2 separate regions of the Homo sapiens genome follow, and region 1 is linked to region 2. The links are contacts of gene promoters, found by promoter capture Hi-C in human tissues and cell types (Jung and others, 2019). All regions are on one chromosome and are shown on one strand. Each heading gives the region's core, a stretch centred on a gene start or on the middle of the fragment in contact. The rest is flanking DNA. Distances are from core to core; before and after follow the strand shown. Region 1 has its middle 50 kb from the start of KLRG2. Region 2 holds the start of PARP12 (poly(ADP-ribose) polymerase family member 12).

Region 1 (7,634 bases), core at 716-3,215, 630 kb after region 2:
GGAAGCTGAGGCATGAGAATTGCTTGAACCTGGGAGACAGTGGTTGTAGTAAGCTGAGATCATGCCACTGCATTCCAGCCTGGGCAACAGAGCGAGACTCTGTCTCAAACAAACAAACTAATGATGAATTTTTTTTTTTTTTTTTTTTTTTTTTTGGAGATGGAGTCTCCCTCAGCTGCCCGGGCTGGAGTGCAGTAGTGTAATCTTGGCTTACTGCAACCACCGTCTCCTGGGTTCAAGCGATTCTCCCATCTCAGCCTCCCGAGTAGCTGGGACTACAGGCACCCGCCATCATGCCTGGCTAATTTTTGTATTTTAGTAAAGATGGGTTTCGCCATGTTGGCCAGGCTGGTCTTGAACTCCTGACCTCAGCTGATCCACCTGCCTCGGCCTCCCAAAGGGCTAGGATTACAGGCATGAGCCACTGCGCCTGGCCAAATCATTCATTTCTTGAATATCTGTAGGAAGAGTCTAGAGGCTGGGTCTGTCAGTTCTGCACAGTGGCGTCTTTCTCACAGATGGCATTTCCCACTTCACAGGGTGTTAAGTTGTTCTTCGTCCCCTGTCAAGCTCCGGCCTCACCTCAAACCCGTAAGGTCCTTGCACACACAGTCCGGGTGAGGCTGTGAGGATCCAAGGACACCGAGTGAAGTGAGGGCAGCAGGACCCAGTGCCTGGCCATTCTAGCTGGGACTGGCCACCTGGCAGTGTCGTAGCCAACATCTGTGGTGACTCTGCCATGCCCCAGGTAGTGTGTGTGAACAGTTTACATATAGAGCGCATGGAATTTCCACAATGACCCAGTACATTAGTGGGTTAGTTTGGCTTTTAGTAACAAAAACCCAATTCCAAGCTGCCTACGCAAGAAAGAGAAATGATTAGAAGACTCAGGAGGGCCTTAGAGAGGCCAAGAGTAGGGATACAACTGGGCTTGGGACTGGCTGGAGCCGGGCTCCTCATGTCCTGCCTCGACCCCTCTTCCTGTGCCTGGGTCACTTGCTTCTGCGGTGGCCAGCTTTATCATGGCGGCACATGGCCACTAACAGCTGTCAACTTCCGTGACATCCTCAGTTCAAGAGAACAGCCAGTCCAAGCTAGAAACTAGTCCCAAGGAAGGACTGGGATTGTTTTAAACAGGCTCAGGCACCCGCCTCTGGACCACTAAGCTGTCACTGTTACCAGTGTGGAAACGTCCACATTGACTAAAACATTCGTGTGACTGCAGAGGTGTGAAGGGGGGGGTTCCCTAGACAGTGGGGGAAGGGCAGACGGAACAGCAGCAGTCTTCTTCCATGCTTGCGTTTTTATTTCCATTTAATAGATGAGACTCGAGGAAAAAAATGCGCAGGTAGAGTGTGCGGGTTAAGAGTACAGACCCGGCCAGGCACAATGGCTCATGCTTGTAATCCCACCACTTTGGGAGCCTGAGGTGGGCAGATCACTCGAGGTCAGGAGTTCGAGACCAGCCTGGCCAACATGGTGAAACCCTGTCTCTACTAAAAAATACACAAATTAGCCGGGTATGGTGGTGCATACCTGTAATCCCAGCTACTTGGGAGGCTGAGACAGGAGAATCACTTGAACATGGGAGGTGGAGGTTGCAATGAGCCAAGATTGTGCCATTGCACTCCAGCCTGGGTGACAGAGCAAGACCCTATCTCAAAAAAAAAAAAAATTACAGGCCCTATATAAGATCTGAATAGACACTTCACCAAAAAGATACACAAAAAGCAAATAAACACATGACTTTAAGTGGGTAAGCGGCGGGGCACCCTTACAATGGATTCTACTCAATGTGAAAAGGTGGGATGTGCTGATGCACACAGCACGGGTGAGTCTCAGCAGCATCGTGTTAAGGGAAGGAAGTCGGCATGAAAGTCTGTATGCCAATAACTCCATTTATATAAAGTTCTAGAGAAGATAAAGCTCATGCTAGAGAGATCAGTGGTTGCCGGGGCCAGAGGTTTGAGGAGAGGATTGGGAGAGGCCAGGAGAGAATTTGTGGGGAGATGGAACTATTCTATATCATGATTGCAGTGGTGGGATACATTTGTCAACTTACTGTATGCTTAAAATTGGTGATTTTTTTTTGAGACGGAGTCTCGCTCTGTCACCCAGGCTGGAGTGCAGTGGCACAATCTTGGCTCACTGCAACCTCTACCTTCAGGGTTCAAGCGATTCTCCTGCCTCACCCTCCCGAATAGCTGGGATTACAGGTGCCTGCCACCATGCCGGCTAATTTTTTGTGTTTTTGGTAGAGATGGGGCTTCACCATGTTGGCCAGGCTGGTCTCGAACTCCTGACCTCAAGTGATCCACTCCCCTCGGCCTCCCAAAGTGCTGGGATTACAGGCGTGAGCCACTGCGCCCAGCCGAAATTGGTGAATTTTATTGTGGGAAAATTAAATCTCAATAAAGTTTTTTTAAGAAAGGTAGCCATTATCATTTTTAGGCATCTCTTACAGGTTTTGCCTTTGAATAAACGCAATAAAAATAAAGTAGTAGGTCCTGGGGTTAATCTAAACTACATTCAACTCCCCCAGGCCCTATCATGATACCTTGAGTACCTTTTTGACTTTTTTAAGCCTCAGCAATCTCATCTGTAAGTCTGGAGATGGTAACTTCTAGCTTATAGATTTATTGTTGTGAAGGACGAAGAGATGATGTGGATAACTCCTCAGTGCTGGGGTTATCTAGTCTGACTTTGGTAAATGTATTATTATCGCTTCCCAAGGGCACACAGCTTCTAAGTGGCAGATTCAGGGCTCAAACCGAAGTCTGTTTTCAAACCCTAGCTCCTGGCCGCCCGCGCCGCACCGCCTCACTAGCGCCCTCTTGCGCTAGTTCTATGCTCCAAGCACACTTCGGATTCTTTGACTTCCCCTGTAAGAACACAGCGTGCTGATCAACAAACCAGAGCATCTGCTTCTATTTATAACTCTAAGTAGAAAATTGACATTCAGCTTTTATAAATACTTTTAAAAAACAGGAACAGGCTGCAAGTCTTTTGATTTGGAAACTCTTGAGTAGCAAGGAGAAGGCTCAGAAGGCCACAAGGAATCCATACTGCTTACAGAGGGAGGGAGGGCAGGCTTTGGCCCCAGCAACTCATCAAGATGACTGCCGTGTAAAGGGGCTTGGCTGTTGATGCTCCCAGCCAAGGAAGGAAGGTAGGTGGCCAGTGCCTCCAGCTGTAAGCAGAAGCCCGGGTGTCACTGGTTGGGAGTAAGAGAAGGAGAATGAGAACAAACCATGGTGATAAGTTGGTTCTGAATTATGACCAGGCAAAGGGTGGGAGAACTGTGGCCACATTTGAGCTCTGATAAGAGCAAAGCTGGAATCTTAAATATTTAGACGCGGAGCCCTAAAGGATGTACTTGACAAGCAATAAAAATCTTAGAAACACTTTAGTGATTCTCACGGCTTGCTTCTTATTCCAACTGCAAATTAACCTGGCAGTCTGAGAACATACTCTATTTTAACTTCCAAGCTCCTCACAGCAAACATCCTGTGTCTGGGACATCAGGAGCCTTTCAGCTCCTCCCAGCCTCAGGGCCAAGTACCACAGGCTCAGGGCTCCCCAGGGACAGGTGCTGGCTGGAATCGCCTGTGAGGTTAAAAAACGCACGTGATGCTGGGCGTGATGCTGGGCGCGGTGGCTCACACTGAAGTGCTCCCAGCACTTTGGGAGGCCGAGGCGGGGGATCACTTGAGGTCAGGAGTTCGAGACCAGCCTGGCCAACATGGTTGAAACCCTGTCTCTACTAAAAATACAAAAATTAGCCTGGTGTAGTTGCAGGCACCTGTAATCCCGGCTATTCAGGAGGCTGAGGCAGAAGAATAACTTGAACCCCGGAGGTGGAGGTTGCATTCTCGGCAGTGAGGCGAGAATGTGCCACTGCACTCCAGCCTGGGTGACAGAGCAAGACTCCATCTCAAAAAAAAAAAAAAAAAAAGGCCGGGCGCAGTGGTTCACGCCTGTAATCCCAGCACTTTGGGAGGCCAAGGCAGGCTGATCACCTGAGGTTGGGAGTTCGAGACCAGCCTGACCAACATGGAGAAACCCCGTCTCTACTAAAAAATACAAAATTAGCCGGGTGTGGTGGCACATGCCTGTAATGCCAGCTACTCGGGAGACTGAGGCAGGAGAATCGCTTGAACTCGGGAAGTGGAGGTTGTGGTGAGCCAAGATTGTGCCATTGTACTCCAGCCTGTGCAACAAGAAATTACATCTCCAAAAAAACAAACAAACAAACAAACAAAAAAAAAACCACACACCACAGGTACTCAGACTCCTCCCAGGTGCAGGATTCAATCTGAGTAAGCCAAGGTAGTGGTAGGAGTGATCCCGGGGCCTGGAAATCTGGAACATTTTTGTTTTACTTGGTGAGGATGGAGACTGAGTGAAAGTCTGGTCTGCTATTCGAGAAAGCTACCATTGTCCCAAGTTGGCAAGCCAAGAAACAGCAGTATAAACATTATTTAGAACTATGAAAACAAATACAAGGAGGAACCACAGAAAGCACCTAAAGTGGTTCTAACCAGTGGTGTCCGAAGTCAGAATAGTGATTATCTTGAGAAGCGGGGACTATTAGCTTGGAAGGACCATCAGGGAACTTTCTAGGGTGCTGGAAATGGTCCGTATCTTGATCTGGGTGGGAGTTGGGTGTTGGCCCTCCCTATCCATGGATTCTGCGTCGGTGAATTCAACCAACCTTGGGTTTAAAATATTTGGGAGAAAATCATTTAAAAAAATACAAATGATATACAAACAATGTAACAACTGTTTACGTAGCATTTACATTGTATCAGGTGTTATAAGCAATGTAGAGGTGACTTAAAGTATACAGAGATGATATGCATAGGTTATGTGCAAATGCCACACCATTTTGTATGAGAGACTTGTGCACCCTCAGATGTGGCGCTTGAACCCAGGAAGCAGAGGCGGAGGCTGCACTGAACCGAGATCACACCACTGCACTCAGACCTGAGGAACAGTTAGATTCCGTCTCAAAAAAAAATATTGGGGGGGGGGGGTCCTGCAATCAATCCCCCATAGATACCGAGGAATGACCATACATATATAAAAACCCATCAAGCTGTACTCTCAAGATTGTGTATTTCGCCTGCATATAATTTAAACTCTGTAAATGTCTCCCTCCAAAGAGGAATCAGTTTACAGCGAGACTAGGCTGTAGGCAGACTTTTTTTTTTCTTTTTCTTTTTTCAAAGACAGAGTCCCTCTCTGTTGACTGGGCTGGAGTGCAGTGGTGTGATCACAGCTCACTGCAGTCTCATCCTGGGCGCCAGTGATCCTCCCGCCTCAGCCTCCCAAGCAGCTGGGAGTACGGGCACAGGCCACTGTGCCTGGCTAGATTTTAAATATTTTGTAGAGACAGGATCTCCCTTTGTTGCCTGTGTTGGGCTTGAACTCCTGGGCTCAAGCAATCCTCCTGCCTTAGCCTCTCAAAGTGCTGGAATTACAAGCGTGAGGCACCGTGCCTGGTCAGGACTGACTTTTTTTTTTTTAAAACATACATTTACAAACTTAAAACCATCTCCACCTTTTTAAAAAACACCATATTCATGTCTCCTTTGATAAAAATAGAAATTAGATGTTTTAAAAGGTCCACAAGAGTCTGGTGTACAGCCTGGGTTGAGAAGTTCTGACTTCAGAAATGCTTCCTGCAACTGCTTTTTAAAAATAGCTTCTAACCCTTTCTTTCACCAAGGTAAATTCTCATGAGTTTCAACCTCTACTTTAGAGCATACCTTTGCTTTCTACAAGCAGAAGTTTGAAGAGAAGAGCTACACAGTAGGTTGGTCTGCATGGAATTCCTCTACTTCTTCTAGTCTCTTCCCACCAGGCACTGCCAGCTGCTATTGTTTGAAACTGACACTCAACATTACCACCAGCCCCAGCTTATGTAGTGGAGCTTTTGAGGCCGGGCTCTGACTCAGGCTGGCCTAGCGGATCGCAGGCCACAGAAGAGCAGCTCTGGATATTTGGTTTTTCAGTAGGTCAGGCATGGGATGGGGGTCCCCAAACAAGGTCTTTCCCAATTTTCCTGGTAATTCTGATGCTGGTTGGTGGTCCAGAAGCCACATTTTGAGCTACCCTGCCTAAAAGAGTCCATACTGCCAACAGGAAAAAAAAAAAAGTGTATATATTTTCAATCAGATTTACTGAGGCATAATGAAGAAAGTGTATCTATTTTAAGACTGCCTTTTGACAAATGTAGGCACCCATGTAACTACTGCCAATCAAAATATGGAAGATTTCCAACACGCTAGAAAGTTCCCTCTCTGCCATTAATCCTTGGTCCTCCCTGAGGTCCGGCCCCAGGCAAACCTGCTTTCTGTCCCTAGAAACCAGTTTTGCCTGTTCTAGGATTTCACATAGAGAATTGATTGTACAGTATGTGTACTCTTTTGTGTCTCATTCCTTTAGCTCAGCTTTTGATTTATTAGCTCAGCATGTTTTAAAGGTATTCATGTTGCTGCTTGTGTCAGTAATCCCTTCCTTTATAGAGATGTATCACAATTTAACCTTTTTTTTTTTTTTTTTCTGAGACAGGGTCTCACTCTGTCACCCAGGCTGGAGTGCAATGGTGCAATCTCGGCTCACTGCTGCAACCTCCCCCTCCCCGGTTCAAGTGATTCTTCTGCCTCAGCCTCCCAAGTAGCTGGGATTATAGGCACCTGCCACCATGCCTAGCTAATTTTTGTATTTTTAGTAGAGACAGGGTTTCACCATGTTGGCCAGGCTGGTTTCGAACTGCTGACCTCAAGTGATCTGCCTGCCTCGGCCTCCCAAAGTGCTGGGATTAGAGGGGTGAGCCACCACACCTGGCCTGTTTATCTGCTTTCTAATTGATGGATATTTCCGCTCTTATGAATACAGCTGCTATGAATGTTCAAATACAAGTGTTTGATTGGACATAAGTCTTCATTTCCCTTGGGTACGTAGGAGGATTGCTGGGTCATATGGTAAGGATATGCTTATTTGTAAGAAGCTGCCTGTTTTCCAAAATAGCTGTACCATGTTACAACACCACTAGCAAATGAGTTCTGGTTGCTCTACATCTTCATTCATACTTAGGTGCTGTCAGTCTTTTTACTTTTGATCATTCTAGTGGATGTGTAATGGGATCTCATAGTTTTAACTTTTTTTTTTTTGAGATGGAGTTTCGCTCTTGTTGCCCAGGCTGGAGTGCAATGGCTCAATCTCGGCTCACCACAACCTCTGCCTCCCAGATTCAAGTGATTCTCCTGCCTCAGCCTCCCAAGTACCTGGGATTACAGGCATGCACCACCACGCCTGGCTAATTTTGTATTTTTAGTAGAGATGGGGTTTCTCCATGTTGGTCAGGCCAGTCTCGAACTCCCGACCTCAGGTGATCTGCCTGCCTCAGCCTCCCAAAGTGCTGGGATTACAAGCATTAGCCATTGCGCCCGGCAGTTTTAACTTTCATTTCATAATGAGCAATGATGGTGATTCTCCTTTTATGTGCTCAACGGCCATCTGAATATTTTATTTTGTGATTCTGATTCAGAGTGTTTAGAGATCGTATTTTGAGGAACCCTGCCTTAAAAACACCCATATGGGGGGGGTCAGCCCCCCGCCCGGCCAGC
Region 2 (7,235 bases), core at 2,942-5,441:
CTCTTTGTTTTCAAAAGTTTGATTATGATGTGTCTAGGTGTAGATCTATTTGAGTTTTTCCTACTTGGAATTCATTAAGCTTCTTGGATGTGTAGATTAATGTTTTTCATCAAATCTGAGAAATTTTAGCCAAAATTTCTTCATATATTCTCGCTTTCCTTTCTCTCTCTCTCTTCTCCTTCTAAGACTTCCATTTTGTGTTATTGGTATATCTGATGGTGTCCCACAGGTCTCTGAGGCTCTTTTCATTTTTCTTTTTCGTTTCTGTTCCACAGACCAGATAATCATCAATTGATCTATCTTCAAGTTTGCTGATTTTTTTTTTCTTTCGCATGCTCAAATCTGCTGCTGAACCCTTCTAGTGAATTTAACATTTCAGTTATTGTACTTTTTGGCTCCAGAACCTTTATTGGTTCCTTATTATAATTTCTGTGTCTTTATTAATATTCTGTTTGGCAAGGCATCATTCTCATCCTTTCTTTTACATTTTTAGAGATGGTTTCCTTTAGCTCTGTGAACATATCAAAAATAGCTGATTTACACTCTTTGTCTACAAAGTTCAGCATCTGGGTTTTCTTAGGAACAGTTTTTATTGATTGCTCTTATTTCCTTTGTATGGGTCTTACTTTCTTGTTTCTTTGCAAGTCACATAATTTTTAGTTGAAAATTGGACATTTCAAACAATGTGCCAACTCTCAAAGTCAGATACTCCTCTCTCCTCAGGGTTTGATTGTGCTTATTTTAGTATTAGGTTGGTGCAAAAATAATTGCGGTTTGCACCAACCTAATAGTTGCTGTTTAGTAACTTTTTTGAACTAATTTTTTAAAGTGTGTATCTTCATTGTGTGTGACTATTGAAGTCTCTACTTGGTCAACTAATGATTAGATGGAGATTTCCTTAAACACCTGGAACCAATATGTCTCCTAGTCTTTGCCAAGGGGCTCTGTATGCACTTTGGGGTATGTCTTCAATTTTCATTAGGCAGTTTGCAACTCTGCATAGCTTTTATTTCCTGCTAGCACAGAGCCTCAGTGTCAGCTAGTAGTGAGAGGTTAGGATCTTCTCAGGTGTTAACAGAGCATGTGCACAGCCCTACACATGCACATGGCCTTCTAAATTCCTGAAAATATACTGGAGCTTTTCAAAGCCCCTATGGACATCTCTTCCTTCAACGTTTCCTTTTACATTTCTTTGTTAGTCTATTGTTTGCCCCTACCGTTACCTATTGCCTCAGCCAGTTACAATGTTAAAATATTTGACAAATCACTCCCTCTTCAGGTGGAAAAACCTTTAGGACTGAGCTAGTTCCAAAGAGGTTGAATAAAGACAACCCTTTTCAGGATTTTTTTCCAGGGACCCACTAGATAGGTTAAATAATGACTCTTCTTTGGGAATGAGACTTTGAAGTAGCTCCAGCCCTGTCTCCTCCCTCTGGTACAGGTACTAGGAACGTGGGCTGTAAGTTTTCAAGGCTGCCATGGAACTAGAGATGGGGGTGCGATAGGACTAGGGTAAATTAAAATACTATAAATATTGCTGTTCTTACTGAGAGTTTGCTGTTTTTCCTGACTAAATGCCAGATGGGTTGCTGCAAACCTGTGACTAATTTCTAGGGCTCTAAGAAAGTTGATTCTGACAATTTTTGTCAGTTCTTTCCTTGCTTCCTTTATGGAAGGGCAAACTTGCTGGGATACTTAATCCACCATTTTCACTGACATCACTCTTCCTTTCTTTTTTAAAAAATGTTATTTTATTGCAAAAAAATATGGAAACCACAACTAAAATTAACTTTTTTTTTGAGACGGAGTCTTGCTCTGTTGCCCAGGCTGGAGTGCAACGGTGCGATCTTGACTCACTGCAACCTCCGCCTCCCTGGTTCAAACGATTTTCCTGCCTCAGCCTCCCAGGTAGCTGGGATTACAGGCACACACCATCACACCTGGCTAATTTTTGTATTTTTAGGAGAGATGGGGTTTCACCAAGTTGGCCAGGCTGGTCTTGAACTCCTGACCTCAAGTGATCCACCCACCTCGGCCTCCCAAAATGCTGGGATTACATGCGTGAGCCACTGCACTCTGCCTAACATTTTAAATTAAAAATTAACATTTTAGGCTAGGCGTGGTGGCTCACTGTAATCCCAGCACTTTAGGAATCTGAGGTGGGAGGACTGCTTGAGGCCAGGAGTTCAAGATCAGCCTGGGCAACAAATGAGACAGTGTCTCTACAAAAAAATATAAAAATTATCTGGGCATGGTGGCACGTGCCTCTAGGCCCAGCTACTTGGGAGGCTAAGGTGGAAGGTTCGCTTGAGCCCAGAAGTTCCAGGTTGTAGTGAGCTATGACTGTACCATTATACTACAGCCTGGGTGACAGACCAAGACCTTGTCTCTAAAACAATAACAAAAACAAAATTAACATTTTATACAATGAAAACATTAAAATCACAATTAAAATCCAAGAGAAAACCCTTCATTCAATTTCCTAATTAAATAAATTCATTTTCATTTGTCCATGTTACTATCTAGTCTTTATCCATACACTTATTATTTACATTTTTGTAGTAATAGTACAGGTAATTTTTTTTTTTTTTTTAAAGATGGAGTCTCACTCTGTCGCCCAGGCTGGAGTGCAGTGTCATGATCTCCGCTCACTGCAATCTCTGCCTCCCGGATTCAAGCGATTCTCCTGCCTGTCTCCCGAGTAGCTGGGATTACTGGCGCCCGTTACCACGCCCGGCTAATTTTTACGTTTTTAGCAGAGACGGGGTTTCACCACGTTGGCCAGGCTGGTCTCAAACTACTGACCTCAAGTGATCCGCCCGCCTTGACCTCCCAAAGTGCTGGGATTACAGGCGTGAGCCACTGTGCCTGGCCTATAGTTAAGATTTTTATATTCATTTTTAGTGAATGTTATACCGTATACCGTAAGTACTCTCCCCCCACAATCCTTCTGCCTCTCATCTTCCCTTTTCCATTTTCCTAATACCTCCTACTGCCTCCTCTCAACTACCCTTGTGTGTTTCTTCATCTTTCTCCGTGCTTATTCAAAAATATCCTGCCACACACACACACACAGGCTTCTCTTTTTGTTATTCAGACATTTAAAAAAATTAATTCTTGATCATTCAACTTGATTATTTAGACATTTCTGTACAGCCATCTTTTCTCGTTTACCACCACATCATGGCTGTCTGCCCCTCTACATCCGCACACGGAGCTCTAACGCATGCTTGTTAAACAGCCTTCGTAATAGTCTTTAAAGATCAACCACACTGTTCCCACGTAACCCTACCTCCCAGGTAGGGTTCCCCCAGTAACACTTTCACACATAACTTATTTACTGTTCCTTTTACTTCTGGAAGATTCCGAGAGGAAAGATTGCTGGGTCAAAGGTCACACGCGTTTTCAATTTTAATAGCTATTCCTGGATTACCTCCTCAAAGGGCTCTAACAACTCGCATTGCTCTCAGCGTGTGAGAGGGTCCTTTGCTCTGAAGGGTCTTCTAAAATATTTGTTCAATCGTTACTTAGCAGGGGCTGGGAGTAACGGATTTTATTTTATTTTATTTTATTTTTTGAGACGGAGTCTCGCTCTGTCGCCCAGGCTGGAGTGCAGTCGCGCAATCTCGGCTCACGGATTTGCTCTTTTAAAGGACATACCCTTTTATGTTTAAATGAAGGAACTCATTGATGCACCGAGGCGAAAGGAACCTTTAATTAAGTGCGTCTTCTATGCGGAGTGATCGCTTTTGTCACTTGTTCGAGGGGTGAGAGCTCCCGTCAGTTGTCCCTGTTTCTGTGAGCCGTCTACGAAGCCCGGGCTTGGCCTGGGCGACGCTGAGCGGCTTTAACCGGCGGCGTCCAGCCGGCTCCGCCAGCGCTGCCGCCGCCCTCGAGGCTCCCTCTGACTGAAGGCGCGCTGAGCATCGCGGCATTAGGGGCTCCTGGTCCCTCAAACATCCAGGGAAGCCATTTTCAGGGACTAGGTACTGACCCCCGCGAGCCGCCACAGCCACAGCCCGCGCTCCGGGCCGAACGCCCGAGCTCAAGAGCTCCCGAGCTTCCGTCGGGCGGCGGCCTCACAGCTGGGGGCCCTGAGGCGGAAGGCGCAGCCGCTCAGCTGCGGACCGGGGGCGTGGCGAGGGCGCACAGGTTCTGTTTTTCGCCGGCCCGGGGCCGCTTTCGGTTTCGTTTCCCGCCGGCGTCTCCACCCTGCGAGAGCCGCCCGCCAGCCAGCGTCCGCCGCCGTCCGCGTCGCGCCACCCGCGGTCCGACGGGAGCAGGCCCAGCGGCCATGGCCCAGGCCGGCGTCGTCGGTGAGGTCACCCAGGTGCTGTGCGCGGCCGGGGGCGCCCTGGAGTTGCCCGAGCTGCGGCGCCGCTTGCGGATGGGCTTGAGCGCCGACGCGCTGGAGCGGCTGCTGCGGCAGCGTGGGCGCTTCGTGGTGGCGGTGCGGGCGGGCGGCGCAGCCGCGGCCCCGGAGCGCGTGGTGCTGGCCGCCTCGCCGCTGCGCCTGTGTCGCGCGCACCAGGGCTCCAAGCCGGGCTGCGTGGGGCTCTGCGCGCAGCTCCACCTCTGCAGGTTCATGGTCTACGGCGCCTGCAAGTTCCTGAGAGCCGGGTAAGGCGCCGCGCCGGGAGCGACGGCGGGCGGAGGTCCTGCGCGCCCTCACGCACTTCCAGCCCGCTTGGGGGTCCTACTTGAAGTTTGAGCAGACAATTCGGTGGCTCTGCCCTGACCTCGCACCGTCATTCACTAAAGCGAGCGTTTAATGAGCACCTGCGGAGTACCTGGCACAGTGCGAGGGACTCAGGGTCGAGTGGGGTCCTCTAGACGCCTGGGGGGAGAGAGTGATTTACATAGAGCATGGTAGTGCCGGGTGGAACACCCGGGTGTGGCCGTGTGGGGTGGGGAGGGAGGGAGGCGGCGGCTTAGGGGAACTCCACGACGCCGCGGGTCGCCCCTTGCCAGCTTTGAGGCCAGACAATGAAGGTTTTCTCTGCCCAGCAGCTGGTAGAGATCTTTAAACCCAGTTCAACCCTATTAATCTGCTTACAAACTGGAAAATGCAGACTCCCTGCCATCGCCCACAAGGTCCTGGGGCACTGGTCCCTGCCCACCCAGGACCCTTCTGTGACTGGAACACCCCCCCCCCCCCGGGCATTTCTGGGAGCCTGGGCATTTCTGGGAGTCTTTGCTCTGCCTGGAATGCCCTTCTTGCTCTTGGTTGGCCCTATTTGTTAATCCTTCAGGCCTCAACCTAAAGATCACATCCCATTTGAGGATTTTTCCTCCCCTTACTCTTGGTCACAGGGAACTGTTTATTTTCCTCATGGCACCCAGCTGCCAGTAGAATAGAAACTCCCTGAGGGCAGAGGCTCCAGCTGTCTCCCCAGCACTTAGCGTCCATGTTCTGTGCATAGCATGTGGCCAGTGGGATGTGTGGAAGGGATTGCTGAGGTTTATGCTAAAGAATTTGGGCCTCACCCTGGAGGTGATGGGGCGGGTAAAATGGCAGGAGAGAGCAACCATCAGGTTTGCGTTTTAGGAAGTCTAAGGTAGTGGTGTGGGTGCCAATTTAAGGGAGGATGTTGTGGGGGAACCACTGGGAAGCTAGTCATCAAGGAGAATTCCTTCCTCCCCTGCTCCCTCCTTTCTTGCTTGCTCCCTGTTTTGTGTGTGTGTGTGTATGTTTGTCTTAATAGAGTAGATATTTCTTGCTCATGTCAGGCCCAGTAGTGAGCATGGGGTGGGGGCCTTGATCCATACAGTCATTCAGGGATGCAGGCTGACTGACCTCCGCTCTGTGCCCCTCAGCACATGGCTCTTGAGGCCAGCCTAGGTTATCAAGTTCGAGGGGGCTGATCGAAAAGAGGGATGCATGGGAGGTTTTTGTGGGCCAGGTCTAGAAGTGGTGGATTTCCTTTCACCCACATCCCATTGACCAGAAGCTGTCTCGTGACCCTGTCTAGATGCAGGGTGACTGGGAAATGCCTCTAGGAAGCAGCTGTCTGGAAGTATCTAGATTAGAGCTTTCCAAGGGCTATGTGTGTGAGAAATTTGGGATAGCTGGTGACGGTGTGATGAGAGGATATGTGAGAGGTGACGACTCTTCAGTCTCTGTTCCTGCGGTGGCCTGGGTGTTGTTCACTGAGAGAGCAAGAGAGGGTTTTAGTTTGGAAGCATGCCCAGGAGGCAGCTGTTCAGGTCAGAAGCTTGGGAGGAAGGCCAGGGCCCCAATGCGCTGGGCTGGTTTGGGAGATATTGGGCGGTGTATGTTGTAGTTGCAGCCCCAGGAGTGGATCAGATCTGAGGTAGCGTCTGAGGCCTGAAAAGAGGCTGAGGGTGGAACTCTGGGGAAATCAGCCTTCAGGGATGAGGCAGTCCAGGGGAGAGCAGGGAACAACAGCCCACGAGGAGGAAGGCACACAGCAAATGGTGGCTGGATAGAGCCACTCATGGGGGTAACTGGTAGATCTGTTTCATGTTCATATTTGGTAAAATAAAGATGGCAGCCCTGTTCTTAAGCTAGTTCCCAAAATGTGGGGTCAGGTCTGACTTGTCTCGGAAATCTGTAGTGTGATATTTACTGGCTCAGATGACCTTGAGTTTTCTTCTTTCTTCAGTTTTCTCTTTTCCTTGTGGTTTACACAGGTGAGTTTCTTGAACCTTCCATTTCTGACTCACTTTAGGGAGAGTGGGTGTGGTTGGCTGCACTTTTCTGCTTCCCCTGTGACTCTGCTTGTCTTCCTGAACCGCAGGGTCAGTTCTTTTAGAAATAGCTCATCAGTCCTGCTGCAGAGCTGGTACGGAGTCCTGGGTGCCTGACTCTTAGTCCTCTACTCAGGAGGCATTGAGCCTGGTGGTCTAGGGCACAGTCCCAAGATCCAGCCCACCTTGTTTCAACCTGGGCTCTGCTCCTTGCTAGCTGATGGCTTCGGGCAAGTGACTTTACCTCCAGGTCTCAGTTCCCTCATCTGCAAAGTGGAGTTAATGATATTACTACCCTCACAGGCTGGTTGAGGACTGAATGATTAACTCATAAAACATTTTGGCAATCCCCGATATTTGGCAGTTGCTCAATAAATTTTAGTAGTCATTATCATTGTTACCATCAGTCATCGTTACACTTATTAGATATATTTGGCTCTGGCAGCACCAAATTATTTGCCCCTCTTCTGGAATGTTCTTCCTTTCTCTTGCTGTCTCCTCCTCACCCTTTAAGTATTCCACTC

The links. The method cuts DNA at HindIII sites, captures the fragments that hold promoters and counts their contacts. A contact is called where the count stands out against the background at its distance.
Region 1: a fragment that was not itself captured here is called in contact with the fragment with the promoter of PARP12 in region 2 in 1 of the 25 tissues and cell types used here (lymphoblastoid cells).

What each region holds. Positions count from the first base shown.
Region 1 is chr7:139,429,947-139,437,580 of GRCh38, reverse strand. It overlaps a transcript of KLRG2 not described here. Among named protein-coding and RNA genes, the nearest start is that of KLRG2, 50 kb to the left of the region's middle. The HindIII fragment of the contact is 9,179 bases long and covers 1-6,554 here.
Region 2 is chr7:140,059,907-140,067,141 of GRCh38, reverse strand. It overlaps PARP12 (poly(ADP-ribose) polymerase family member 12), which reads left to right and starts at 4,191. Exons shown (of 12, transcript NM_022750.4): 1 at 4,191-4,620. The coding sequence starts at 4,295. RefSeq lists an enhancer at 4,044-4,253 and a silencer at 4,264-4,583. The HindIII fragment of the contact is 11,268 bases long and covers 1-7,235 here.